Regions from separate parts of the Homo sapiens genome. Here all the other regions are linked to region 4. Evidence: promoter capture Hi-C in 16 types of primary human blood cells and fetal thymus (Javierre and others, 2016). All regions are on one chromosome and are shown on one strand. Each heading gives the region's core, a stretch centred on a gene start or on the middle of the fragment in contact. The rest is flanking DNA. Distances are from core to core; before and after follow the strand shown. Region 1 has its middle 36 kb from the start of PURB. Region 2 has its middle 7.4 kb from the start of POLM. Region 3 holds the start of MYO1G (myosin IG). Region 4 holds the start of NUDCD3 (NudC domain containing 3). Region 5 holds the start of LINC00957 (long intergenic non-protein coding RNA 957). Region 6 has its middle 7.7 kb from the start of PURB. Region 7 overlaps LOC102723334 (a long non-coding RNA gene).

Region 1 (3,655 bases), core at 1,063-3,562, 430 kb after region 4:
ATCTACAGCTGGCTGGAAATCGCAGGGAGCATCTTTTTGCAGACTCAGTATGTGATTTGAGCAGGAGTGCTGTAGGAGAAATTGAAGGAGAAACCTCTCTAGCATCACATACATAACACCTTTCCCCTGTGGAAGGAGCCAGTCTTCCAGAGGCCCCACTTATGATATGGCAAAGCCAAAATTCTCATGGAGGACATCTGGTATCATGAGGATCCCATTGGAGCAAAATTCTTTTTTTTTTTTTTAGATGAAGTTTTGCTCTTTTTGCCCAGGCTGGAGTACAATGGCATGATCTCGGCTCACTGCAACCTTCGCCTCCTGATTTCAAGTGATTCTCCTGCCTCAGCCTCCCGAGTAGCTGGGATTACACCAGCTACTTACGCCACCACACCCAGCTAATTTTTGTATTTTAAGTAGAGACGGGGTTTTGTCATGTTGGCCAGGCTGGTCTCGAACTCCTGACCTCCGGTGATCCACCTGCCCTGGCCTCCCAAAGAGCTGGGATTACAGGCATAAGCCATCGCGCCCAGCCCATTGGAGCAAAATTCTATTCAGCCTACAAATCTGGTCAAAAGCTTTTGATCTGTTCAATCCAAGCTTCAAGCCTACCTGTCAATGCTTTGTGAAGTATATTGAGCTGCAGAAACTTAAAGAAACAGATGAAGAGAAGTTATTTGTAGAAACAAGGAAAGCTTTATTGGCAGAAAGTGTCATTTTAAGATGCGTAGGAGAAACAAGGACTCAACAGGAAGGTAGTCACGTTTCCTGGAAATCTGAACACATGATTGTCAGACCCCAAACTGTGTTGAAAGAAAACCAGCCTCAGAAAGAAAGAAGTTCCACAGGACCAGCATTTGGAAGCACCTGAAGGACAGTTAAAAGGTCTTGCAGCTCCGTGAAGGGTTTGTATATTGTGGATACTGACATACACACTCTACTCACTAGCTCAATGTTGAGCTGTTTCTAACAGTTGAACTACATAAACGTCTCTTGATCTTGAAGGCATTATATTTGCCTTCTCTTAGTCCTTACTTCTGAGTTGTCATAAAGCTCGGTATCATGGTTTGACAGAAGCAGTTATGATCCAGAGGATTTATATAAAAGAATAATAAAAACTGAAAAAAAAAGGAGTTATGTGAACTTTCATGGTAGGACATCATTAAATAAAGAACTCCAGCTGGGCGTGGTAGCTCATACCTGTAATCCCAGCACTTTGGGAGGCCCAGGCGGACAGATCACTTGAGGTCAGGAGTTTTGAGACCAGCCTGGCCAAGATGGTGAAACCCTGTCTCTACTAAAAATACAAAAAAATGGCCGGGTGTGGTGGCTCATGCCTGTAATCCCAGCACTTTGGGAGGCCGAGGTGGGTGGATCACCTGAGGTCAGGAGTTTGAAACCAGCCTGGCCAACATGGTGAAACCCCTTCTCTACTAAAAATACAAAAAAATGGCATGGTGCGGTGGCTCATGCCTATAATCCCAGCACTTTGGGAGGCCAAGGCGGGTGGATCACTTGAAGTCAGGAGTTTGAAACCAGCATGGCCAACATGGTGAAACCCCTTCTCTACTAAAAATACCAAAAATTAGCTGGGCATATTGGTGGGCGCCTGTAATCCCAGCTGCTCAGGAGACTGAGACAGGAGAATCGCTTGAACCTGGAAGTCGGAGGTTGCAGTGAGCTGAGATCGCACCATTGCACTCCAGACTGGGCAACAAGAGCGAAACTCTGTCTCAAAAAAAAAAAAAAAAAAAAGCAAAAGCAAAACAAAACAAAAAAATTAGCCAGGCGTAGTGGCACATGCCTGTAATCCCAGCGATTCTGGAGGTTGAGGCAGGAGAATCACTTGAACCTGGGAGGCAGCAGTTGCAGTGACCTGAGATCATGCCACTGCTTTCCAGCATGGACAGCAGAGCAAGACTCCATCTATAAGTAAATAAATAAATAAAATTCCCTAGGTGCTTAAAAACAAAGGAAGAGGAAAAAAAAGGAGGTGCATCTAACATCTAGGAAGAGCACCTGGGGGAGCACCTACTGGGAGCACCTGAAGGAGCAACTCAAGGGCCACTGGCAGGAACCTCCGGGAAGCGCAGAAGGCATGTGTGGGGAGAGATTGGTGGGGGTTGGGTGTTCTTACCTACTGAATGGGCGGGCTAGATCAAGAGGTGACAACCTGGAAGAGAAATGGGGCTAGAGACAGGCTGGCTGTAAACCAGTGGTTGTCGAGGAGATAGCATCAGTGAGGGAGGTGCCCCAGTGGGAGAGCCGCCCTGAAAAGGGAGGAGGGTGTCTCTCCACTGTTGAGCCAGAGCCACAAAGAGGGTTGACTCTGCCATAGAGCGGCCTTTCTTCCCAGCTATTATGTCGGCTCTGCAGGGACCCTCACACTTGATGAGTCAAGGGGCTTGTGCCTTACTGAGCAGCCAGAGGGATCCCTCTCTGAGACCCTCAGACCTGCTCCTTGCCTGACCAGTGCCAGCCCTCCTCCCCTTCCTCACCAGGGGATGGCTGAAGCATGGAAAAGTGGCCGGCAGCAGATGGTTGGGGGTGGTGGTGGGGGGCATGGGGACTCAACGCCCTGGGTTGCTGAGTCCTGTGAGACCTGTGGCCCCGGGACACCCCACCCCAGGCCTGGGCTCTCAGCAAGAATGCCATGTGGAGCCTGTCAACTAGCCCGTCAACTAGCACTCTCGCGCCCCCTGGTGGCCGTCCCTGATGAGGTGGGTATAGGACATGGTCCCAGTGAGAACTTGTGGCAATCCACAGTTCATGCCTACGTTCATTCATTCATTCATTCTTGAAATATTTGGGGAGTACCTGCAGGCCTCCGAAGCTCTATGCTGTCCACTCTGGCACCCACACGTGCTCTGAGCACTTGAAGTGCAGCGAGTCCACTGGAGAAGTACAGTAAGTGTAAAGAGTACACTGGCCGTCAAAGACATAGTGCACACAATGTAAAATGTAGTATCGATCATTTTCATATTGATGATACATTGAAATTATAATGTTTTAGATCAACCATTTTAAATAAAATATGATTACAATCAATTTCACCTGTTTCTTTTTTACCGAGACCAGCTGGGTCGGGGAGACCCTAACCTAGTGGTGCTAGAGGAATTAAAGACACACACACAGAAATATAGAGGTGTAAAGTGGGAAATCAGGGGTCTCACAGCCTTCAGAGCTGAGAGCCCCGAACAGAGATTTACCCACATATTTATTTTTTTTTTTTTTTTTTTTTTTTGAGACGGAGTCTCGCTCTGTCACCCAGGCCGGACTGCGGACTGCAGTGGCGCAATCTCGGCTCACTGCAAGCTCCGCCTCCCGGGTTCACGCCATTCTCCTGCCTCAGCCTCCCGAGTAGCTGGGACTACAGGCGCCCGCCACCGCGCCCGGCTAATTTTTTGTATTTTTAGTAGAGACGGGGTTTCACCTTGTTAGCCAGGATGGTCTCGATCTCCTGACCTCATGATCCACCCGCCTCGGCCTCCCAAAGTGCTGGGATTACAGGCGTGAGCCACCGCGCCCGGCCTACCCACATATTTATTAACAGCAAACCAGTCATTAGCATTGTTTCTATAGATATTAAATTAACTAAAAGTATCCCTTATGGGAAACGAAGGGATGGGCCAAATTAAAGGAATAGGTTGGGCTAGTT
Region 2 (3,709 bases), core at 742-3,241, 400 kb before region 4:
CCTGGGCAGCAGTGGGCAGGGCCCTGGCCTGGGTGGGTGGGTACCACAGGCTGCTGTCAGGAAGTAGAGACCTCAGCCCTCTGTTTTGGGTGAGCTGTTCCAATAAACTTGGCTTAGGGATTCCCAGAAGTCCAAGTCCTCAGCCTCCTGCTCCCTCCTCTGACACTGCCTCCCAGAAAGTCAGGAGGCTGCCCAGCCACCCTCGTGGCGGGACACCTTCCGGCCAGGCTGGGCCCTTTCCGCTGCCCTGAGGCTGCAACCTCCCTCCCTGCTCCCACCGAGCCATGACTATTCCTGCCCATCCCTTACTTATGTTTTCGATTATTTTTGCCCAGATTGAGTTTGCATTTTTCCAAGATGAATCTCATCTTGCTGTTTCCTGTTCCCACTTTCAGCTCTAGACGTCCCTCGGGGAGATACCTCAGTGCCCACGACCTTTGCACCCCCCTCCCCACCTCGCCCCCGCTGTGGCACACCTCTCTCCAAGCTCCCTTTGGTGCTGTTTCCACCCGTGTGCGTTCTGTCCAGAGGCCTGCGGGGACCAGGACGTGGCCCTGCTTGGGGGCCTGCCCCTGCTGCCCTGGTTTCCTCCCTCCCGTGGGCTGCTTGCCAGCAGCATTTGGGAGAGTGTGTGGCCAAACTGCTGATGCTGCTGGCCCTGAGCTCCTGAGGGCTGTTGGCCCCAGCAGTGCTGGCCCTGGGCCTTCTCTGATCTATTCCTGCACATTGCTGTGGCTAAGAGTAACCTGGTATATTTGTATCCCATGACCGCTATAACAAATTATCACAAACTAGGTGGGTAAAAACAACAGAAATTTATTCTCTCCCAGTTCTGGAAACTACAGCCAAAACTCCAGCTATCAGCAGGGCCACCCTTCCTTGAAGGCTCTAGGGGGGATCCCTCCTCGCCTCTTCAAGCTGCTGATGCTCCTGGTGCTCCTTGGCTTGTGGCAGCATCACTCCACCCTCTGCCCCGCCTGCAATGGCCTCCTTCCCTCTGGGCCTGCTCTGTGTCTGTCTTCTCCTTCTCTCTCTCTTTTTTTTTTTTTTTTTTTTTTTGAGATGGAGTCTCGCTGTGTCACCCAGGCTAGATTACAGTGGTGCCATCTCGGCTCACTGCAACCTCTGCCTCCCAGGCTCAAGTGATTCTCCTGCCTCAGCCCCAACCAGTAGCTGGGATTACAGTTGCCTGCCACCATGCCAGGCTAATTTTTGTATTTTTAGTAGAGACAGATTTTCACCACGTTGGCCAGGCTGGTCTCGAACTTCCGGGTTCAAGTGATCCACCCGCCTCAGCCTCCCAAAGTGCTGGGATTACAGGCATGAGTCACCATGCCTGGCTGTCTTCTCCTTTTCTTATAAAGACACTAAGACACTAGTCATTGGATTTAGGCTTTTTTTTTTTTCTTTTTTTGTCATCCAGGCTGGAGTGCAGTGGCACAATCATAGCTCACTGCAACCTCATACTCCTGTGCTCAAGTGATCTCCAGCCTCAGCCTCCTGAGTAACTAGGACTACAAGCGTGTGCCACCATGCCTGGCTAATTTTTGTATTTTTTGTGGAGATGATGTCTCACTATGTTGCCCAGGCTGGTCTCAAACTCCTGGCTTCAAGTGATTCTCCCACTTTGGCCTCCCAAAGTGCTGGGATTACAAGCATGAGCCACCTTGCCTGAAAGACCATCCCAACTCAGGATGATCTCATCTCAAGATTCTTATTTTTTTTTTCCTTTTCTTTCTTTTTTTTTTTTTTTTTTTTTGAGATGGAGTCTCACTCTGTCACCCAGGCTGGAGAGCAGCAGCATGATCTTGGCTCACTGCAACCTCTGCCTCCCATGTTCAGGCAATTCTCCTGCCTCAGCCTCCCAAGTAGCTGGGACTACAGGCACATGCCACCACGCCCGGCTAATTTTTGTATTTTTAGTAGAGATAGGGTTTCACCATATTGGTTAGGCTGGTCTTGAACTCCTGACCTCGTGATCCACCCACCTCAGCCTCCCAAAGTGCTGGGATTACAGGCATGAGCCACCGTGCCTGGCCAATATTCTTATCTTAATTACACCTGAAAAGACCCTTACACCAAATAAGGTCACATTCTGACATTCTGGGTGGAAATGAATTTGGGGGGCCACCCTTTAACCCGCTGGCCTGAGTCCCACTTTGCCAGGGATCAATTCTGGACTCTGTGACCTGGGGCAAGTGGCCAGCCTTTCTTTATTTGTGTAGATCCATCAGAGCTGTGGGATTCGTATTTTTGACAGTAGATGCACTAGTGGCTTGCCTGGGACCTGGCTGGTTATATAACAAAAAGAGACGCTTTATTTTTGAGAAACCATTACTGCCTTTTAAGGAGTGTGTGCATTGCCGCTTGCTGGATGGGTTCCATATAAGAACCGGTGGTGGCGGGGGTGGTGGGGAGAGGGTAGTTGGAAGCCTGGGACAGGACTCGGAGTGGGAAGACTGGGCCAGAGGTCCAGAGAAGAATTCCCAGCTCCCTGCCAGGGGATTTGGCTGCAGAATTCCTTATGGAGGAGCGAAGTGTCCTTAAAATGAAGGCTGTTTGGGTTCATCTGTTTAACCAGCCCAGGCTCAACCAGCAGTTCAGGTATGGCTGGCAATGGTGAAGGGTCCAGGGGGCTAAGAAGGCTTATGAGAAGAGGGATGTTTGCTGACCTCAACTCTACCACAAGGTGACAAAATTGTCCACTGTTTCCATCATGAATTATTTCATTTAAGTTAAGGGAAGACTATAATGTCATTACATTCCTGGATAAACAGACCCAATGTCATTTATTTAGTATTTTCCCATTTGCCACTGTCATTCTTGAAATAAAATAGATCCAAACATGGGGAGTTCCATTTATTAGCACCAAGGAGAAGCCCTGGGCTAGAAAGTTGCTGGAAGCCCCAAGGCTGTCATGGATGCTGTTTCTTGGGATGGAGAGTCCTGAGAGGCTGGACGTGCTGCCTGGTACATGGAAGGTCAAGGAGGAAGGAGGGTTGGAAGCCAGGAGTATGGCCATGGAGGGAGTCTCCAAAGTCCTAGTCAGGGGTGGAACCCAGACCGGAAGTTGGGGTAGAAGACAGGGATGGGAAGTGACAGCTGCTAACATTTATGGAGGGCGAGAAATAGGCCAAGGACTGTGCTAATTATTTTTTATGCTGTATTTTTGTTCTTTTTCCAATTATATGGAATTGGCACTACTGTCATTTTTTTCTATCTTACAGATAGGGAAACTGAGATTTTGAGCTAAAATAATGTTGCCAAAGTAGTCACACGCATAAGAGGCAGAAATGTGATTTCAACAGTGGATATTTGACCACAGAGCCATCCTCCTAACCATTCACCCAACAGAAGTGTGTTGAGGCGCGGTGGCTCACCCCTGTAATCCCAGCACTTTGGGAGGCCAAAGGGGGCTGATCACATGAGGCCAGGAGTTTGAGACCAGCCTGGCCAACATGGCAAAACCCCATCTCTACTAAAAATACAAAAATTAGCCAGGTGTAGTGGTACATATCTGTAATCCCAGCTACTCGGGAGGCTCAGGCACGAGAATTGCTTGAGCCCGGGAGGCGGAGTTGCAGTGAGCCGAGTTCACACCACTGCACTCCAGCCTGGGCGACAGAGTGGGACTTTGTCTCAAGAACAAACAAACAAACAAAAAGGTGTGTTGTGTGCCTGGCTTTCTTCTAAGTGCAGGAGGTATAGC
Region 3 (3,670 bases), core at 696-3,195, 490 kb after region 4:
ACCTGGACACAGCAGGGGTAGGCCTCAGCACTCACAGGCTTACAGGCACCCACAGGCCTTTCGCCAGAGCCCATATCAGGGCCTGGCCCCAGTAGGCCAGCGCTCCCACCCTGACGGGCTGAGAGTGGAGAAGGAAGAAGGGGGCAGGTGTTGACCTTGCGTCTCCCTGGTGCCATCCTGGGTGAGCTGAGCCACTCAGAGACTGTCTCCATTGCGGCATAGAGTTTGGGGTCCACAGTGGTCTCCCCAGGGATCCCAAGGTCACTGGAAACATGACCACTCATTTTGCAAAGGAAACAGACTTGCCCAAGACTGCACTGGGTGCCGTGAGTCAGGGCTGGCTCCTGGGGTGAACCCCGCAGGGCAGATGGGGAGATGGGGTTGAGAAGTGACTGGGCTGGGAGGGGAAGGAGGGGCCTCCTCGGCTGTTTCCTGTCTCAAGGCCTGGGCGGGAACCCAGAGACAAAAGGGGACCCCACCCAGCCCCACCCAGATGACAGGGAGGGAGTTGATGTCGTTGTCTTTACACCCCCGACCCCCCAGCCTGTGGCCAGTGGCTGCTGCCTCTCCCCTGGCACAGCCTCAGACTTCTTGACCCTTTCCTTCACAAACCTGGTCCCCAGTGGGGGTGGATGTCTGCCCTTCTCTTGACCTTTCTGCCCCTGGGAGGAGGACTGGCAGGCCTGCCCCTCAGACCCATCTCCCCTTGGTGTGTGGTACCCACCCTTCCCTGGATGGCCCTGTCTCCCGGCAGCCTGTCCTGGGTGGGCCTGTCCTGAGGTTCCTCTTTCTCCACCACCTCTGACATGGGTTTTCCTGGGCCTAGCTCCCATCCTCCTACAAGCTGGGGATGAGGGCACAAGTCACCCACGTCTCCAGGGCTCAGTGTTCTCCTCATCAAAATAGAGAGGACAATGTTTCATAAGCTCATTTTATAAGAATGAGGTAGAACAATGTGCACAAAGTGCTTAGCTCACGTCCTGGCTAGCCCTCCTCTTTGAGCCAGGCTCGTGGTCTCTTGCCTTCGGTGCTTAGTGGGGATCCTGGTCCCCAAGCTCTCCCCAGGGAGCTTCCGGAGTACACAGCGAGTGGCCTTCTGCCCCTCCCTGGGAGTCCTGGCAGGAAGCCCAGCTGCCTGTATGGCCACCCTACTGTGCCATGCCCCTACCTCCCGGGCTTCTCCCTGCCCTCCACCTGCCCTCCTTGATGGTAAATTGGGCTCCAATATCACTTCTACCAACTGTGTCCTGTGATACTCCATGTACCCCAGGAGAATGTCACCTCAACTTGGTGGGAATGTTTGGACCCTAGGGTGGAGCCTGACTGCTTCATCTCAGTGTCCCCAGGGCTCAGGCCAGGCCCCATGGATGAGATGCATCGAGGGAGCATCAACAACTGGCTGGGAAGTGGCTGGAGGGAGGTGCCCCTGGTCCCTCCTGGAAAGATAGTGCCTGGTATGTATCTGTCCAAGAAGTGTCATGCCCTGGCCCCGTCGGGCAGGAAAGAAGGGGCAGAAGATGCCTGGACTGTGTGGGAGGCAGGGGTGGGTTGAGGTGGTGGGCAGCTCCGGTGCTGACTTGCCAGCCCTGACAGGGACAGTTGCCTCCTTGTCTGTTCCTGTCCCCTGGGGCCGTGCTTTGAGGCACTCATTTCAGCCCCATCTGGTCTGGGTGGGTGTGTGCCACTGCCCCCTCCCTTGGACAGCAGCGTGCCTTCCTCTTTCCCTCAGGTCTCTGCGAGGACGCAAGGTGGGAGACCCTGGAGGAGGGGAGCCACTGCCTCCTGCCCTGGGCCTACCTGAGCTGCAGGTTCCTCATGAAGTCCTCCATGGTCACTTGGTCCAAAAGCACAAAGTCAGGTTTGCCATACTCAGGGCCTTCCTCGTCCTCCATCCTGCCGGCTGGAAACACCTTGCCTCACCTTCCTGTGCCTGCTGGAAGGACAGTGAAGGAGAGGGGGAGGGAAGGCTAGGGGAGGCCCCACCGCCCCCGCCCTGCCCCACCAGCCTCCTCCAGTGCTGGTGTAAAGTAGGAAGTGGGTTCTAGTCCTGGGAGGGGCTGCCCTCCGCACTTGCCACTCCTTCCCCCTCGAGGTGCTCTAAACCCTGCTTCCTGTCCCTGCGCCCCACAAGGAGGCTGTGCCTAACGGTCTGACCCGTTTGCACGCCAGGGGCGAGGGGCCGGATGCTGGGTCCTCCCCGCTTTGGAGGGTTCTTCGCTGGCCTCCTTCGGAAGCTCCCCTCCACCCACAAGCAGGAGACAAGACTCCGTGGGTTGGCTTCCAACCCTGGCAGCACGTTAGAGTCACTTGTGGGACTTTAAAGAAAGATTTTTTGACGTGATCTTGGTTACCTGGCTGTGTGTGTCTCTCAAGTCAGAACTGAACACTAGATGCAATATACTGTATGTACATTGTACATTAATACAAAAATGAAAAAGGATCCTAATGCCCAGGCCTTTGGGGTGGGGGCAACAGCCTTCTTTGCAGTGTGAAGGCCACACTGGGGTGTAGACGAGCAAAGCTTCTTGTGTGACCTGCCAAGGGCCAGTGGTCCTAGCACTGCAATTCCCCACCCCAGCCACGGGGGAGGGACAGAGGACCCCAGAGCATCCTCTGCATGGGGCTGGCCTTCAGTGGGACCCCTGTGCCCCTAACTGTCCTCTGCCTTGTACTTGTGTCCAGCCGATCCCCCATAAACTGCAGTGAGGACCAGGAACATGCCTGGAGCCCTGTGGCCTCATCTCAGAGCTGCTGTCCCTGCACTTTGAAGATGAGGCAGCGCATTTGGGGAGCGGCTGCATTTAGGGAGTGGCCAAAATCTCCAGACACTGCATTCCTGACACTTAGTGCTCCTGGAAGAAGTGGGAGGGGTGCAGTTCTCTTAGCTTCCAGGCAGACTGGAAAAAGTTCTTTTTCATCCCAGGACAGACTGGGGCAGGTCACACCCATCCTCTAGGAACACTGGGGCGATTCTCTCATCAAAGGTCAAATGGATGCAGTTCTCTCTCATCCTACAAATAGACTGGTGACATTTCTCTTTCACCCCTTCCCTCATACAGGGAGGTCAAAGGGCAGACTCCAGAATTCCCAAACTTCAGTCATTCATGTGCTGCCTTTGAGATTTGTTGTACTCATAAGCACTAGTTTAACTATTGTCTTTCAGTCATCCCATTTTTTAAACTTTGAAGTAATGGATAGGCAAGTTAAGTTTATTTTTTTCTCTCGAATACCTTAAAGCAAATGCATTCCTGATAAAACTGAAAGTACTTATTCAAGTACCTAATAAAACTGAGTCACGCACCACTGCAATAAGGGGCCACTGGCCTGAAAAATCCCCAAATTTGTAAGTGGGCAGCCTCTGGCTCCACCCTGGGCCAGACCTGGGGCTCCTCTTGGGCAAATTCAAAGTCAGTCCTTCGGAACTCTGACAAGTGTGGCCTCCTCCCCACCCCCAGGCTCTTGGGCTGGTGCTTTTGAAGGGTTTCCCAAACCTACACTCAAGTCTGGGAATTCTCACCCAGACTCTTGCCAGCTCATCTGTCTTTTCAAGTTTCACTTCCCCAACCCCCAGGGAGTCAAGCCAACCAGTGGAACCAAGATGGCTGTATTCCAGTAAAACGTTAAGGACACCGAAATCTGAACTTCGCAAACTTTTCATCTGTCACGTAAT
Region 4 (3,624 bases), core at 430-2,929:
TCCTTTCTCCTCCACATCTTTCTGCAAACTACAATCAATCTAGACAAAAGTGTTCTCATCCTACTATGGAATGGTTAAACAACAGAACAGGAAGATTTGGAATCCACAAAATGAAATTTTTAGTTTCAGCTCTACGGTGAACTGGCTGTGTGTTCTTGGTCAAATCACTTAACCTTGCTGAATTGGTACGTAAACTTGAAACTTATCTGTTTCACAGAGACACTGAAGATCAAATGGCAAGACTTCATTAACCTGCCATAAGATCCTGCTAAAGGCCACCTCCAACAGCTCTCTCATCACTAAGATGGCACTTATGCCACTGACAAGGACGAGGAATAGCCTTAAGTTCTGAAATTGAATCCTAATGGAACCCCATTCCTCGTTTGGCCCTATTACCCTGGTAGCTACCAAGACATTCAAAGCTTTGGCTTCTGCTGAGGAAAGTAACATCTTACCAACCTGCAGCATGCATTAAGACTTCAGGAGGAAACATCTGAAGCATTTTATAAACTGTAACATCTAGAGAACTGAGGGAGGTATCATCAGCATTTCTATCTTCTTGGGTTTCTACAAATAGGCTTAATACTTGGCTGAATAGTTTCTTTTAATCTCATCAGAAGTCCCACCTCTCTTATAAAAACTTCACTTCTCAACCATCATTTCTATTTCCTTTCTTTACAATGGGCTCCATCAAATAATTGCCCTTAAAAAGTTTTCTATTACTTTCTGGGTTTTCTCTCTTTAACTGTGTCACAAGGAGAGAGAAACCATTACTTAAACACCCGTATCACCCTCACCTGCGGCAACTAAGAGTGTAAACTACATTCAGCAAAAGGTTGCTTACCACTACATTCAAAAGTGCCCAGTCAACTTCACTGAATGAGTATTGACAGCGTTTCCAACATACAATAAACTTAACCTGGAGGGTACGGAATTAAGCTCAAATAGAAATTTTAATAAGCACTACATTGACAGTCTTTGACCTGGGAAGTCACATTTCAAACAAGCGACCACACCCATTGATCAACACAATGCCTCCGTCATCCCCGCCAGCTCAAGTCTTTGGTAGTTCTGGGGCATGCACGTTTCTGTTGCTGTAAATGTCCTTCCTTCTGTCTGGCCTGCATGGATTTCGCTCCCTGACTAGCGGCCCCCAGCACCGTGAGGGGTACGCGCTGGCGGGTGCTGAGTAGGGCTCTTAACAGTCGGCTTACTACTTCTGAAACCTCAGGACGTCCGGAGCGAACACCTCAGCGGAATAAGCTGACATCCAATCCGCGCTTCAAATTACTGAAGCCATTCTCACAAGCTCAACCCCAGGACACCAGGAAAAGGAGGAAACAGGCTGGGAGAGCTTGGAGGAGCGGGCGCCAGGAGTCAGGGCAGGCCGGGGGCGGCGGCTCCCCAGACCGCAGGCCCGCCCGCCTCACCTGCAGCACCAAGGCCTGCGCGGCCCCGGGCGGGAAGCCCATGCGGTCCGATGGGTGGCGCAGCAAGCGATAGAAGTCTGTCTTGCGGTAGAGGAAGCCAAAGAGAACGCGCAGGAAATCCTGGACGTTGCCCACGTGCTGCAGGATGCCCAAAAGGGCCTGGTCATACAGCTCGGCCGCCCCTGTCTCCATGTCGCCTCCCGCCCTAGGTACGCTTCACACACACAGCGCCGCCTCAGACCTGCCGACTGGCCACTTCCGGCGTCCGCAGCCAACGGCTCCGCCGGACGGCGCGGCTGCGGAACTTCCGGTCCGTGCTCGTTCGGCCCCCGCGGCCCCGGGCTGTTTTCCCCAGACCCAGCTGCCCCACGGGCTTTGCCTTGAGGTGGTCTTAGACAAAAGAGCCCGACAAGGGCAGCAAGGAGGTTCCTACGCGGAAGGAAGCCCGTGGCTTCTGCTGCGCTGCGAGGGCTTGACCGCCATGTTTGAAGCGGGCGGAAAAAAATTATGGGGCGTGCAGTGTCACGTGACTGCTCGGATTTTTGTCACGTTGTCTGTGGATCCTTTCTTATTTCTGTGTTGAATTCCAGCCTGGGTATTTGGAACCTATGGTTAAAGATGGGGCTAGGGTAAGCTTTTTGTTAGTGAGCCAGAGACGGGAAAATGCGTATATGTGGGATGTATGGGTTTCTTATTAACAGATCTGTGAGTTAAACTCAGGGCGTTGCATCAGAAGAAAGTCAAGATGACGAAGAAAATAAAGAGTGCATTCAACGTATATTAAGTGGAAAGAGCTAGATTCAGAATAGAGAATCCGTATGCCATCGTTGTGAAATATGTACGTGTATGTGTGTGTATAGTATGTATATACATATATACGTCATATATACATATGTTGTTAGTGTCTGTCAAAGTATAATCTTAAAAAAGTAAAAAGCATGACACTCATACAAATATATCATGAACACATATCCAAGATTTCTTCAGCAAATTAACAATGATATGGTAAAGCTGGTTCAAAAGCATTTTGAGGAAGTGGAGATTAAACATTTTGACAAAGCATTAGAGTAAGATTAGGTTGGATACAAAGCTGGCTGGTGTTCTACAAGATGATAAAACCATAGATTATCATTTCTAGTGTATAGAAATGATTTGCACCTCTTCTAGATTAAAACATGCAAGTTAACATGTCTTCATAGTGTATAAGCTTTAATGAATTGTAAATAAAATCCAACTCAGGTAAATTGCCCTAGAACAGTGGTTCTGAAACTCTTGATTTAGGGACCATTAATCCTCTTAAAATTTGTTGAACATTCCAAAGAACATTTGTTGATATGGGTTATGCTTATCAATATTTACCACATTAGAAATTAAAACATAAAATGTTTAAATATTTATTTAATCATTTTTAAATGACCATAAAACACATTACATGTTAACATACTTTTATGCAAAAAATAATGTTCTTCAAAGCAATAAAAGTTCAGTGAGAGGAGTAACATAGTTTTACATTTTTGCAAATCTCTTTAATGAGCCTACTAGAAGACAGCAAGATTTGGCCGGCACAGTAGCTCATGCTTGTAATCCCAGCACTTTGGGAGGCCGAGGCGGGAGGATCAGGAGTTCGAGACCAGCCTGGCCAACACAGTGAAACCCTGTCTCTACTAAAAATACGAAAATTAGCTAGGCGTGATGGCAGGTGCCTGTAATCCCAGCTCCTCTGGAGGCTGAGGCAGGAGAATCGCTTGAACCCGGGAGGCAGAGGTTGCAGTGAGCCGAGATCACACCACTGCATTCCAGCCTGGGCGACAGAGCTAGACTCCGTCTCCACAAAAAAAAAGAAGACCACAAGATTCTCACATCTGCATTCACTGCAACATAATTTGCATTATGTTGTTTTCATTGAAGTATATGAAAACATGCAACCTCACACAGACAGTTGCAAATGAGAGGAATATTTTGTCTTTTCAAATAAATGTGGCTATTTGTCTTTAAAATGACATCAAAATTCTTCTACAAGCGATAGTTTCTATTTTTTTTATTTTTAAGAGGCAGGGTCTCCCTCTGTCACCCAGGCTGGAATGTAACGATGTGATCATAACTAACTGTAGCCTTGAACTCTTGAACTCAAGCAATCCTCCTGCCTCAGCCTTCTGAGTAGCTGGAACTACAAGCACATGCCACTGTGCCTGGC
Region 5 (3,707 bases), core at 1,020-3,519, 450 kb before region 4:
GATGTTGGCTAACTTGATGAGGGCGCTTTTCTGGGGCAGTCAGGGAGGAGGAGGCTCAGGGACCTAGCCAGGGGCATTCCATTCCCCATCTCTGGGCCTCAGTCTCCCCTTCTGCAGCACCAGGGGTAGGCGTGGGAGACCCAGAGTGACCTCAGCCAGGGCAGAGCACAGACTGATGGTGACCAAGTGCCCAGCAACTGGGAGAGGAGGACCTGGCCTCTCTGGGGGGCACTCCCAGAAGGCCTCGGAGGTGTGAGCTTTGGGGTAGTGTCTGGACAGCCAGCATTCCCTGGGCTACAAAGTCAATCCAGCCGTGGCCAAGGCTTTGTGACTTTGCATTTATTAATTTTCCAACTTGCTTTTGTAGTCCCAAGCTCTAACAGTCATATCCTGACCGGGCGCAGTGGCTCACACATGTAATCCCAGCATTTTGGGAGGCCGAGGAAGGCGGATCACCTGAGGTTGGGAGTTCGAGACCAGCCTGACAAACATGGAGAAACTCCGTGTCTACTAAAAATACAAAATTAGCCGGGCATGGTGGTGCATGCCTGTAATCCCAGCTACTTGGGAGGCTGAGGCAGGAGAATCGCTTGAACCCGGGAGGCGGAGGTTGCGGTGAGCCAAGATCGCACCATTGCACTCTGGCCGGGGCAACAAAAGTGAAACTCCATCTCAAAAAAAAAAAAAAAAATGGGACCAGAATTAAATAATGCCCATGTAGTCAAATCTTTCAACCCTGGCAAGGAAGATGTATAATAATCATCTGAGTGCTTTGGGAGGCTGGGGCAGGAGGATTGCCTGAGGCCAGGAGTTTGAGAACAGCCTGGGCAGCATAGCAAGACCCCATCTCTGCAAAAAAAAAATGTTAAAGAAAATTAGCTGGGCTTGGTGGCACGTGCCTGTAGTCCCAGCTACTCAGGAGGCTGAGGCAGGAAGATTGCTTGAGCCCAGGAGTTTGAGGCTGCAGTCAGCTATGATCGCACCACTGCACTACAGTCTGGGTGACAGAGCAAGACCCTGTCTCAAAAAATAATTATCATCATCTGAGGGGTCTTTGGTCGGAAGGGGCGGGCCCCTCATCTGGTGGGACCCCTGAGCTGGTTGAGAACAGGGTGGGTGATGAGCTCCTTCACCTACTCCTAGCCTGCTCTCACCTGCCCAGGGCTAGGCTGGGTACTCCTGGAAGATCATCCCCATAGCCTGCATGACTAGGGGCAGGTGTACAGCAAGCAGTCACCAGGTCCATGGAGGAAGTATGTCCTCAGCCCTTCCTGGGAGAAGAGAGCTTGCAGGAGAGGTGACCCATGACTCAGAGAGGGCTGTACAAGGTGATCTTTGAGATCCCCTCCCACACCAAGATTCCATGCTTCTATATTCCTGCCCGTTCCAGGAAGCCTCCCCTGTTTGCCCTAGCCTCCTACTCATCTAGCAGCCCAGGTGATGTACTATCTTTAATAATACCATTTGCCTAAATAGTACTACCTGCCAGGCCCTGGGTCAGGACCCTTAGGGAGATCATCTCATTTAATCCTCAACAACCTGGTAAGGTCGGATCAACTTCCTCCATATTCATTTTTTTTTTTGAGACGGAGTCTTGCTCTGTTGCCCAGGTTGGAGTGCAGTGGCACGATCTCGGCTCACTGCAACTTCTGCCTCCCGGGTTCAAGCGATTCCCGTGCCTCAGGCTCCCGAGTAGCTGGGACTACAGGCACCCACCACCACACCCGGCTGATTTTTTGTATTTTTAGTAGAGACGGGGTTTCTCCATGTTGGCCAGGCTGGTCTCAAACTCCTAACCTCAAGTGATCCACCCGCCTTGGCCTCCCAAAGTCCTGGGATTACAGGCGTGAGCCACCGTGCCCGGCCCTCCTAGGTTCTGACAAGCAGTACAGATGCCACACACCTGGCTTTCTTCTCTGACCCCGGGGGTACCTCAAGTGGGCTCCAAGGAAGGGGACAGGTGCCTCTAAGGTGCCCCACTTGCCGGCCTCTCAGAGCCCCACTTGCCGGCCTCCCTCCTTACCCACCTTGGAGCTGGGCGTCTTCGCGAAGCTGAGGGCCTCGGTAGTGAGGGAGAAGTAGAGCTTCTTGAAGGAGGAGGACATGAGGGGGCCCTTGCCCTTGGTCCTGTGGATGAAGAGTGGCCCCTCCTTCACAGGTGGCGCCTGCAAACTCAGCGTCCGCTGCAGGTCCAGCTCTGCCAGGCCAGGGAGGGAGGGGAATAGAGAGCCCAGGGAATGAGGGCGGGACTGGGGGGGGGGGGCGGAGCAGTGGGCGGGGCCATGGGGCTCAAGGGCTGAGCAAATCTGAACAGCAGGCAGTGGACGTAGTCATGGGGCTCAAGGGCGGAGCAAACATCAACAGCTGGTGGTGAGCGGGGTGACAGGTGGACTGAGGAAGGCAGGGCCATGGGCTTGGAGGCGGGACACGCGTCAGTAGCAGGTGGCGGCGGGGCTATGGAGCTCAAGGATGGAGCAAATGTCAACAGGCACAGATGATGGGAGGTGAGGCCATGGGTCTAGGGGTGGGGCAAACGTCAACAGCAGGCAGTGGGCAGGGTCACAGGAAGCACAAACAGTGGTGCGTGGGTCTATGGCCTGGGGGCCTGGCAAATGTCAACAGCAGGCGGTGGGTGGGGCCACGAGAGGAACAAACAGCGGTGGGTGGGGCCGTGGGGCTCAAGGGCGGAGCAAACGTCAGCAGTAGGCTGTGGGCGGGTCTGTGCAGGGCGGCGCTCACCGTCCTTCTCCTCGATGTCCACGAGCTTGGTGATGAAGTCCTTCAGCTGCGCCACGCCCTGGCGCACGGTGGGCTGCAGCGGCTCCATCCAAGCCTCCTTGGCCCTGGAAGCCGGCGTGTCCATGTTGCCCACGTTCTGGACTGCCTGGAGGTGACAGCAGGAAGGACCAGGTTCTGCTAGGTTAGGGGCCTAGCCACTGCACCCCCTCCCACCCCCCCTCCCCAAGTCTTTGCTACTCAGCTGTAGCGATGGAGGCAGAGGCGACAGAGGCCATGCCCACGGGCCCCCTCCAGCCCCACTAGGGATCAGGGAGGAGAGGATCATGAAGTTTGATGCCTTATGATAACTGAGACCACTTGGGCCTTCCTCTGTAGGTTTAACTGACGCTGCTGCACTGGATACCCCACCCCGGTGCCGGGCACATAGGTGCAGCCTGAGAGTAAGCAGACCTGGGTTGGAAGGTCCCGCGATTCACCACCGACAGGATGGGCGGCCTTGGCAACCCCCGACCCCTCGCAGGCCTGTTCCCTTATCCATGAGATGGAACTCGGACAAGGTGGCCACAGGAAGGCTTTGCAAACTGTGAAGTGCAGTGCCTACGTGGGCGTGCCAGTGGCCTCGCCGGAGCCGGTAGGGAACACTCTGCAGTCCAGGCCAGGGCCCCGGTAGGACACCCAGCTGTGCATCCCGCCCGTGGCCGCAAGGCCCGCACCTTGGCCAACAGGAGCAGGGTGCGGCTGGTGCGGGCGTCCGCGTGGCGCTCCCGCAGGTGGAAGAGCTTGGGCGACATGATGGCGGGAGAGAAGAAGCGCAGGCACAGGAAGCTGGTGACGGCGATGAACGGTACATTCTGGAGGGGTGCGGAAGAGCGCGGGCTGGAGTCCCCCAGACCAGGGCTCCTGGCAGCCCCCTCCCCTTAGGCTCCGTCCCTGACCCTCGCCGGGACACAGCCTCCCTGGTCCTCCCC
Region 6 (3,781 bases), core at 1,045-3,544, 400 kb after region 4:
TTCATAGTGAGCTGTATATGAACTATGTACTTGGGCTTCCCACAAGTTTTGGAAACACATCACAAATCACCCAGCTCTTAGGAGGTGGAGCAGAGACTGGAACTCGAGTCTTCTGATTCTAAATTCTGTGTCTCTGACACTGTGTCACTTTGGGGCCCCAGGGGATGGAAGCCAGATGTCAGAACGCTCACAAGTAAATGCAGGGGCAGGAAGTGTAGATTGAGGAGGTATTTCATGTGGCAGAAGGTGACAAAAGATGGGTACTGGCAAAGGAAGGCAGGATGAAGGCTGTTTTACCCCAGAGAAACCTGAGCCAGCTCTGAGGCTGAGGAGAGGAGAGGGGTGCTGAGGGGTCATGACAGAAGCCTCTCAGTGAGGCCTGGAGTAGGCACAGAAGTTGGGCACTCAGGAAAGGAATTGGGTCCTAGAACATGAGAAGGCATCCTTTTTCTTCTGAGATCAAGGAGAGAAAAGGAGATACTGGAGCTTCCAGTGGAGAGGAGGGAAGTTGGAGGAGTTCTTGGTGAAAGGGCCTAAGAGTGAGGCCACACTAAGGAGGAGGCTGCAAAGACCTGTGAGGCCTGGGCTGGACTAAAAGCCTGCTGAACAGCCCCAGGGCCTGGCCAAGACTAGGGCAGAAGCAGGATGGGCTAGATCTGCACCTTGGAGGAGCTGGGAGTCTGGGCTGGAGGCAGCAGATGGAAGTGGGCCTTGCCAGGGCTGGGAGATGGTTGTGGGGGTGCCAGATCCTGGGGACAGTAGCCTCAGATGGCCAGCCATGGGCAGACAAAGCTGGGCATTCAGGAGAACCAGGCCTGGAGAATGAGGAAGGGTTTGCACATTGCAGGGTGGGCACGCCTTTTTTCCCTCATTGCTTTTCCTTGTAGACTTTTTACTTGTTTATTTTTGAGACATGTTCTCGCTCGGTTGTCTAGGCTGGAGTGCAATGGCGTGATCTCTGCTCACTGCAGCCTCTGCCTCCTGGACTCAAGCAATCCTCCCACCTCAGCTCCCAGAGTAGCTGGGATTACAGGCATGTGCTACCACACCCAGTTAATTTTTAAAATATTTTTTGTAGAGATGGGGTTTTGCCATGTTGCCCAGGCTGGTCTCGAACTCCTGAGCTCAAGCAATCTAACCGCTTTGGCCTCCCAAAGTTGGATTACAGGCATGAGCTCGGCCTTCCTTTTAAACTTAAAATGTAAACTTACAGAACAGCTGCAATAATAGTATTCTTCACACAGATTCCCCAAAATGTTAACATCACGGTGTTTGTGTCATTACGCTTTTCATCTTTATGTTTCTTCATCTCTGTCTCTACACACACACACACACACACACACACACACACACACACACACGCTATTTGACATTTTTCTTTCTCCTGAACCATTTGAGAATAAACTGAAATATGATGACCACTTACCTTTAAACACTTCAGTGTCTATTCAAGGTCATTCTCTCACCTATCTAGAGCACAACAATCAAAATCGAGAAACCAGCACAGATCTGACAATGTTGTCTAATCTGCAGACTTTATTATTCAGATTTCACCAAGTGTCTTGATTGCATCCTCTACAGCAAAGGAGACTTTTGCAGCATTAACTGCCACAGGCCCACCCCCAACCACCACTTCTTTTTTAAGACAGAGTCTCACTCTGTCACCCAGGCTGGAGTACAGTGGCGCTATCTTGGCTCACTGCAACCTCTACCTCCTAGGTTCAAGCGACCCTCCTGCATCAGCCTCCTGAGTAGCTGGGATTACAGGTGTGTGCCACCATGCCCGGCTAACTTTTGTAATTTTAGTAGAGATGGGGTTTCACCATATTGGCCAGGCTCGTCTCAAACTCCTGACCTCAGGTGATCTGCCCACCTTGGCCTCGAAAAGTGTTGGGATTACAGATGTGAGCCACCGCGCCCAGCTACCCCACTCTCTTTAATCTGGAGCCATCCCTGGGTCTCTCTTTGTCTTTCACATGAGTGACATTTTGAAATATGAAGGCCGATTATTTTGTAGTTTGTCCCCATTTGTGTTTGCCGGGAGTGCTTCCTGACCACAATCTGAAAACTCCTCACGTCCTGGCTGGCTCAACTTCCCGTAGTGAGTGAGACGTTGCCTGTTGTGCCTGATGCTGAGAAGAGGACGAGGAGATGGTTGAAGGTCCCAGGGTCAGGGACAGGCTGGCAGGAGAGCTTGGGGATGGTCAAAAGGGGATTGCGATGGATGGAGACTGCATATGTGCTTCCTGGGCCCTCCTGCTTTGAGCTGCTTAGAAGCTGCAGTCTTCTTTGCCTTTCCTGCCCATCAGGCATTAAACTGAACTAGAGGGAACAAGACAAGATGACAGTTAGGAGAAACTGGTGTCCAGGATATGCCATCCTAGCGGGTGCTGACACTGAGATTCCCAGGCCAGGCACCCCGTGCTGCAAATGCTTTGCAGCTTGACACTCTGGGCCAAGTATCCAGCTGGCTTGCTTTGAAGCCTCCAGTGATGTTTTTTGGATTTGTGTGGCTGAAAGGAAGTTTGTGCATCTTGCACAGTCTAAAGAGATTGCCTAATTCTGGCTCTGGGCAGAAGGCCCACACCTGCCGTTTATTCTGGGGATTTTTGTCTTATGTAAGGTAGAAAATCAATTCCTTGTGTTAGTATTGGGTTCCAGGAAGCGGAGTTCTCAGCCTCAGGGCTTATCAATCAAATCAGCTGCCCTCCATGATTTGTAGTTCCTCTTCTGGCACGCCCAGAGGTTGGGAAGCTGCGTTAGGCACAGTTGCTGTGCCCTGTGGAGTCTGCACTCACCTAGTGCTCCCTGGGGGCCTCATGAGCCCCTGGAAGATTGATATGTTAAAGGACTGGAGCCTTGAGGCCCTGCGTGTGGCTCACGCCTGTAATCCCAGCACTTTGGGAGGCAGAGGCAGACGGATCATTTGAGGTCAGGGGTTTGAAACCAACCTGGCCAACACGGTGAAACCTCGTCTCTACTAAAAATACAAAAATTAGCCGGGCATGGTGATGGGCACCTGTAATCCCAGCTACTTGGGAGGCTGAGGCAGGAGAATTGCTTGAGCCCGGGAGGCAGAGGTTGCAGTGAGCAGAGATTGTGCCGCTGCACTCCAGTCTGGATGACAGAGTAAGACTCTGTTTCAAACAAACAAACAAACAAACAAACAAACAAAAAACTGGAGCCTTGAAACATTCCAAACCTTCACTGCCCAGTGTTCCTGGGACAAGTTACTTCACTTCTGTGGGTCATGCCCTCCTGGAGGGCAGGCACTTGCACCTTACAGAGCTGCCTGAGCAGTAAGGAAGGTATTGTGTGCAGGCCACTTGTGGATGTGTTTGGTACATCCATGCTCAAATATGTTGCTGCTGTTATTGATGTTATTCATGAATATGGTTGAGCTTTCTCCATAAATCTCCTGGCTGGCTCCATATTCTATAAGACTCTACTGGTTTCAGCTAATGTTGGGTGGAGAGAACCTGCAAATAAAACACAGATGTACTTGGATGAGGGAGTTGAAACCCCCAAATGCAATGATCTTCAAGGGAACAGGATGCCTAGGAACATAGTGGTTGGAAAGCATATCAGCTGGTGATGAATAAGCAGGTCTGAGGCAGTCATAACCAGGGTCACTGGTGTTTGAACCCACTCATTTATATCCTGAAACAATAGGGGAAGGACTTACACACATGGCCTTCTGTGGGGTGGCTTCTGCCCTTCATGCCCTGTCTCTCAGCCAACAGCTGAGTATGAGAAGCCTCCTCCTAGACTCCCAGCTGCC
Region 7 (3,755 bases), core at 988-3,487, 510 kb after region 4:
GATTATTGAGCTGGGTCACAAAGCTCAACAGCCAAATTCACCAGCAGTCTAAAAGACTTGGGTTTAAGCCAGGCGCGGTGGCTCACACCTGTAACCCCAGCACTCTGGGAGGCCGAAGCAGGCAGATCACGAGGTCAAGAGATCAAAACCATCCTGGCCAACATGGTGAAACCCCGTCTCTACTAAAATACAAAAATCAGTTGGGCAAAAAGATTTGGGTTTATTAACCTACCATGACCAGGGAGAGCACCCCAGAGGAAGAAGGGCTGCTTCTCATTACGAGGGAATAGGAAGGGGACTTTGTAAGGTTTGGGCTGGCCCTGAGTAATTCTGAAGAGGGGACAAGGGGAAGTGAGTATCATGGCTATAAAGTTGCTTTCATGAAGTGTGGGCAGTTTAGTAATTGGGTACCTTGGTCGCTTTTGTTCAAGATGTAGGAGCCACACAACAGGCTGGGGAGGTTATTGGTAAGAAAGCAGTAATCATAAGTAGGTGGCTGTTAGGACACTTTACAGCCAAGGTGTGACCTGGAGAGAAAGAAAAGATTGTTTTATGTTATAATTGTCTCATTGGTGTCTGTTACGAGAGACTGAATATACAAATAGACAATGGCTGGACCATTTGTACAACTAGAACTCTGACTGACAACCTGCAGAAACCTCCTCAGGAAACCAATTCGTTATCTACAGCAACCAGCCCAGGAAACAAGCCTGCTGTAAGTCATACTTGCAGGAAGCCAGGTGTTATCTCTAGTGACAATCCAGGAGTAACTTTTCTAACAGCCCCCAAAGCCTAGGACTTAATTAATAACTGGCACCCTATCTCTCACCAGATACAAAAATCAACTCAAAATGGATTAAAGACTTAAACATAAGACCTGAAACTACAAAACTACTAGAAGAAAACATAGGGGAAATGCTTCAAGACATTGAACGAGGCAAAGATTTTATGGCTAAAATTTCAAAAGCATAGGCAACAAAACCAAAAATAGACAAATGGGACTATATTAAGCGAAACTAAAAAGCTTCTGCACAGCAATGGAAACAATCAACTGAGTGAAAAGACAACCTTTAGAATGGGAGAAAATATTTGCAAACTATTCATGCGGCAAGGGACTAATATCCAGAATATACAAGGAACTCAAACAACTTGACAGCAAAAAACCACAAATAATCCATTAAAAAGTGGGCGAAGAATCTGAGTAGACATTTCTCAAAAGAAGATGTACAAAAAACAAATAGGTACATATAAAAAAATACTCAATATCATGAGTCATCAGGGAAATGCAAATCAAAACCACAATGAGATACCATTTCACCCCATTTAGAATGGTTATTATCAAAAAGGCAAAAAATAAGGGTGTTGGCGCACCTGCAGTCCCAGCTACTTAGGAGGCTGAGGTGGGAGGATCCATTGAGCCCAGGAGCCCAGCTCCTTAGCTCAAGCTGCGGTGAGCTAAGATCATGCCACTGCACTCCAGCCTGGGTAACAGAGGGAAGCCCTGTCTCTAAAAAAAAAAAAAAGACAAAAAATAAGGTTGAGCGTGGTGACTCAAGCCTATAATCCCAGCACTTTGGGAGGCTGAGGCGCGAGGATTGCTTGAGCCCAGGAATTTGAGAGCAGCCTGGGCAACATAGAGACCTCATCTCTACAAAAAGTAAAAAAATTAGCCAGGTGTGATAGCAGACACCTGTGGTTCCAGCTACTGGGGAGGCTGAGGTGGGAGGATCTCTTGAGTCTATGAGATCAAGGCTGTAGTGAGCAGTGATCATACCACTGCACTCCAGCCTGGGTGACAGAGTGAGACCTCATGTCAAAAAAAATTAGTATATATACACAATAGAATACTATTTGGCCATAGGAAAAAAAAATGAAAATGTCATTTGCAGCAACATAAATAGAGCTAGAGGTCACTATGTAAGCCTGTAATCCCAATACTTGGGAGGCTGAAGTGGGAGGATGGCTTGAACCTAGGAGTTGGAGACCAGCCTGGGCAACATAGTGACCTCATCCCTGTAAATTTTTTTTTAAACAAAAAAACAAAGACAAGTATTGCATTTACTCACTCATATGTGGGAGCTAAACAAATATTCATCTCATTGAGATAGAGACTGGGATGATAGCCACCAGAGGCTGGGAAGGGTGTGTGTTGGGGGAAAGTAGGGGGCTGAAGAGAGGTTGGTTAGCGTGTACAAACATACAGCTAAATAGAAGCAATAATTTCTCATGGGTGTGTGTGTGTGTGTGTGTGTGTGTGTGTGTGTGAGACAGATCTGGCTTGTTGCCCAGGCTGGAGTGCAGTGGTGCAATGACAGCTCACTGCAGCCTCGACCTCCTGGGCTCAAGGACCCCACTTCAGGCCCCTGAGTAGCTGGGACCACAGGTGCACACCACTATGCCCAGCTAATTTTTGTATTTTTTGTAGAAGAAGGATCTCACTATATTGCCCAGGCTGGTCTCCAATTCCTGGGTTCACGTGATCTTCCCAGCTTAGCCTCTCCAAGTGCTCGGATTACGGGTTTGAGCCACCACACCCAGCCTAAATTCTAATGTTCCATAGCAGAGTAAGATGACTATAGTTAATAACAATGTACTGTATATTTCAGAATAGCTAGGAGAGATCTGAAATGTCTCCAACACAAAGAAATAAGTGTTCAGGTGACGAATATCCTAAATACCCTGATTTTATTATTACACATCATATGCATGTATCAAAATATCACATGTATTTTGGCCGGGTGCAGTGGCTCATGCCTGTAATCTCAGCACTTTGGGAGGCTAAGGTGGACAGATCACATGAGGCCAGGAGTTCGAGACCAGCCTGGGCAACATGGTGAAACCCTGTCTCTACTAAAAATACAGAAATTAGCCGGGCGTGGTAGTGGGCACCTGTAATTCCAGCTACTCCGGAGGCAGGAGAATCGCTTGAAACTGGGGGGTGGATGTTGCAGTGAGCTGAGATTGCACCACTGCACTACAGCCTGGGCAATACAGAGTAAGACTCTGTCTCAAAAAAAAAAAAAAAAAAAAAATTAGCCTGGTGTGGTGGTGCATGCCTGTAATCCCAGCTACTTGGGAAGCTGAGGCAGGAGAATTGCTTGAACCTGGGAGGCAGAGGTTGCAGTGAGCTGAAATCATGCCACTGCACTCCAGCCTGGGTGACAGAGTGAGACTCTGCCTCACACACACACACAAATCACATGTACCTCATAAATATGTACAATTATTATGTGTTAGCTGGGTGCGATGGCTCATGCCTATAATCCCAGCACTTTGGGAGGCTGAGGAGGGAGGATTGCTTGAGCCTAGGAGTTTGAGACCAGCCTGGGCAACATAGTGTGACCTTGTCTCAACAAAAATATACTAAAATTAGCCAGGCTTGGTGATGCGTCCTTGTAGTCCCAGCTACTTGGGAGGCTGAGATGGGAGGATTGCTTGAGCCCAGGAGGTTGAAGCTTCAGTGAGCCATGACTGCATCACTGCACTCTAACCTGAAGGACAGAGTGAGACTTTATCTCTAAAAATACAAAAGAAACAAAAAATTATTTGTCAATTAAAAAAAAACTGGCAGCTTTCCTAGTTTTCGGTCCTGCTTCCAGCTTAGGAGCAACCAGAGAAAGACAAATATGTGCCCCTAACCAATCACTTGGGATGCCCTGCCCCTTGCTTCCCCAGGCCAACAGCCTCAAATGAGGACATCCCTGGAGGCTTCCCTTTTTTCACTATAAAGCTTACCCACTCCTCTGCCTGACATT

What was found. The method cuts DNA at HindIII sites, captures the fragments that hold promoters and counts their contacts. A CHiCAGO score of 5 or more calls a contact.
Region 1: a fragment that was not itself captured here is called in contact with the fragment with the promoter of NUDCD3 in region 4 in 2 of 17 cell types (naive B cells and total B cells); the score reaches 6.6 in naive B cells.
Region 2: a fragment that was not itself captured here is called in contact with the fragment with the promoter of NUDCD3 in region 4 in 13 of 17 cell types (M1 macrophages, M0 macrophages, M2 macrophages and 10 more); the score reaches 9.5 in M1 macrophages.
Region 3: a contact is called between the fragment with the promoter of MYO1G here and the fragment with the promoter of NUDCD3 in region 4, in 10 of 17 cell types (naive B cells, monocytes, total B cells and 7 more). The highest score is 9.6, in naive B cells.
Region 5: the fragment with the promoter of LINC00957 here is called in contact with the fragment with the promoter of NUDCD3 in region 4 in 1 of 17 cell types (M0 macrophages); the score reaches 5.4 in M0 macrophages.
Region 6: a fragment that was not itself captured here is called in contact with the fragment with the promoter of NUDCD3 in region 4 in 2 of 17 cell types (monocytes and naive CD4 T cells); the score reaches 6.7 in monocytes.
Region 7: a fragment that was not itself captured here is called in contact with the fragment with the promoter of NUDCD3 in region 4 in 3 of 17 cell types (monocytes, fetal thymus and naive B cells); the score reaches 6.6 in monocytes.

The regions. Positions count from the first base shown.
Region 1 is chr7:44,919,591-44,923,245 of GRCh38, forward strand. It overlaps the pseudogene MRPS23P1. Among named protein-coding and RNA genes, the nearest start is that of PURB, 36 kb to the left of the region's middle. The HindIII fragment of the contact is 3,245 bases long and covers 691-3,655 here.
Region 2 is chr7:44,088,072-44,091,780 of GRCh38, forward strand. No RefSeq gene overlaps it. Among named protein-coding and RNA genes, the nearest start is that of POLM, 7.4 kb to the left of the region's middle. The HindIII fragment of the contact is 6,706 bases long and covers 1-3,709 here.
Region 3 is chr7:44,977,070-44,980,739 of GRCh38, forward strand. MYO1G (myosin IG) reads right to left here and starts at 1,946. Exons shown (of 22, transcript NM_033054.3): 1 at 1,798-1,946; 2 at 1-2. The coding sequence starts at 1,892. RefSeq lists a silencer at 1,889-1,978 and enhancers at 2,179-2,248, 2,279-2,328, 3,556-3,670. The HindIII fragment of the contact is 4,854 bases long and covers 1-2,519 here.
Region 4 is chr7:44,488,979-44,492,602 of GRCh38, forward strand. It overlaps NUDCD3 (NudC domain containing 3), which reads right to left and starts at 1,680. Exons shown (of 6, transcript NM_015332.4): 1 at 1,431-1,680. The coding sequence starts at 1,622. RefSeq lists silencers at 1,262-1,431, 3,497-3,623. The HindIII fragment of the contact is 1,642 bases long and covers 421-2,062 here.
Region 5 is chr7:44,036,780-44,040,486 of GRCh38, forward strand. LINC00957 (long intergenic non-protein coding RNA 957) reads left to right here and starts at 2,270. Exons shown (of 3, transcript NR_072982.1): 1 at 2,270-2,370; 2 at 3,115-3,583. It also overlaps the pseudogene RASA4CP. RefSeq lists an enhancer at 1-104 and a silencer at 3,556-3,645. The HindIII fragment of the contact is 32,056 bases long and covers 1-3,707 here.
Region 6 is chr7:44,891,331-44,895,111 of GRCh38, forward strand. No RefSeq gene overlaps it. Among named protein-coding and RNA genes, the nearest start is that of PURB, 7.7 kb to the left of the region's middle. The HindIII fragment of the contact is 9,175 bases long and covers 1-3,781 here.
Region 7 is chr7:44,994,618-44,998,372 of GRCh38, forward strand. LOC102723334 (a long non-coding RNA gene) reads right to left here. Exons shown (of 4, transcript XR_428139.4): 3 at 412-527. Among named protein-coding and RNA genes, the nearest start is that of CCM2, 3.7 kb to the right of the region's middle. RefSeq lists enhancers at 313-362, 443-492, 533-592, 613-662. The HindIII fragment of the contact is 2,431 bases long and covers 1,023-3,453 here.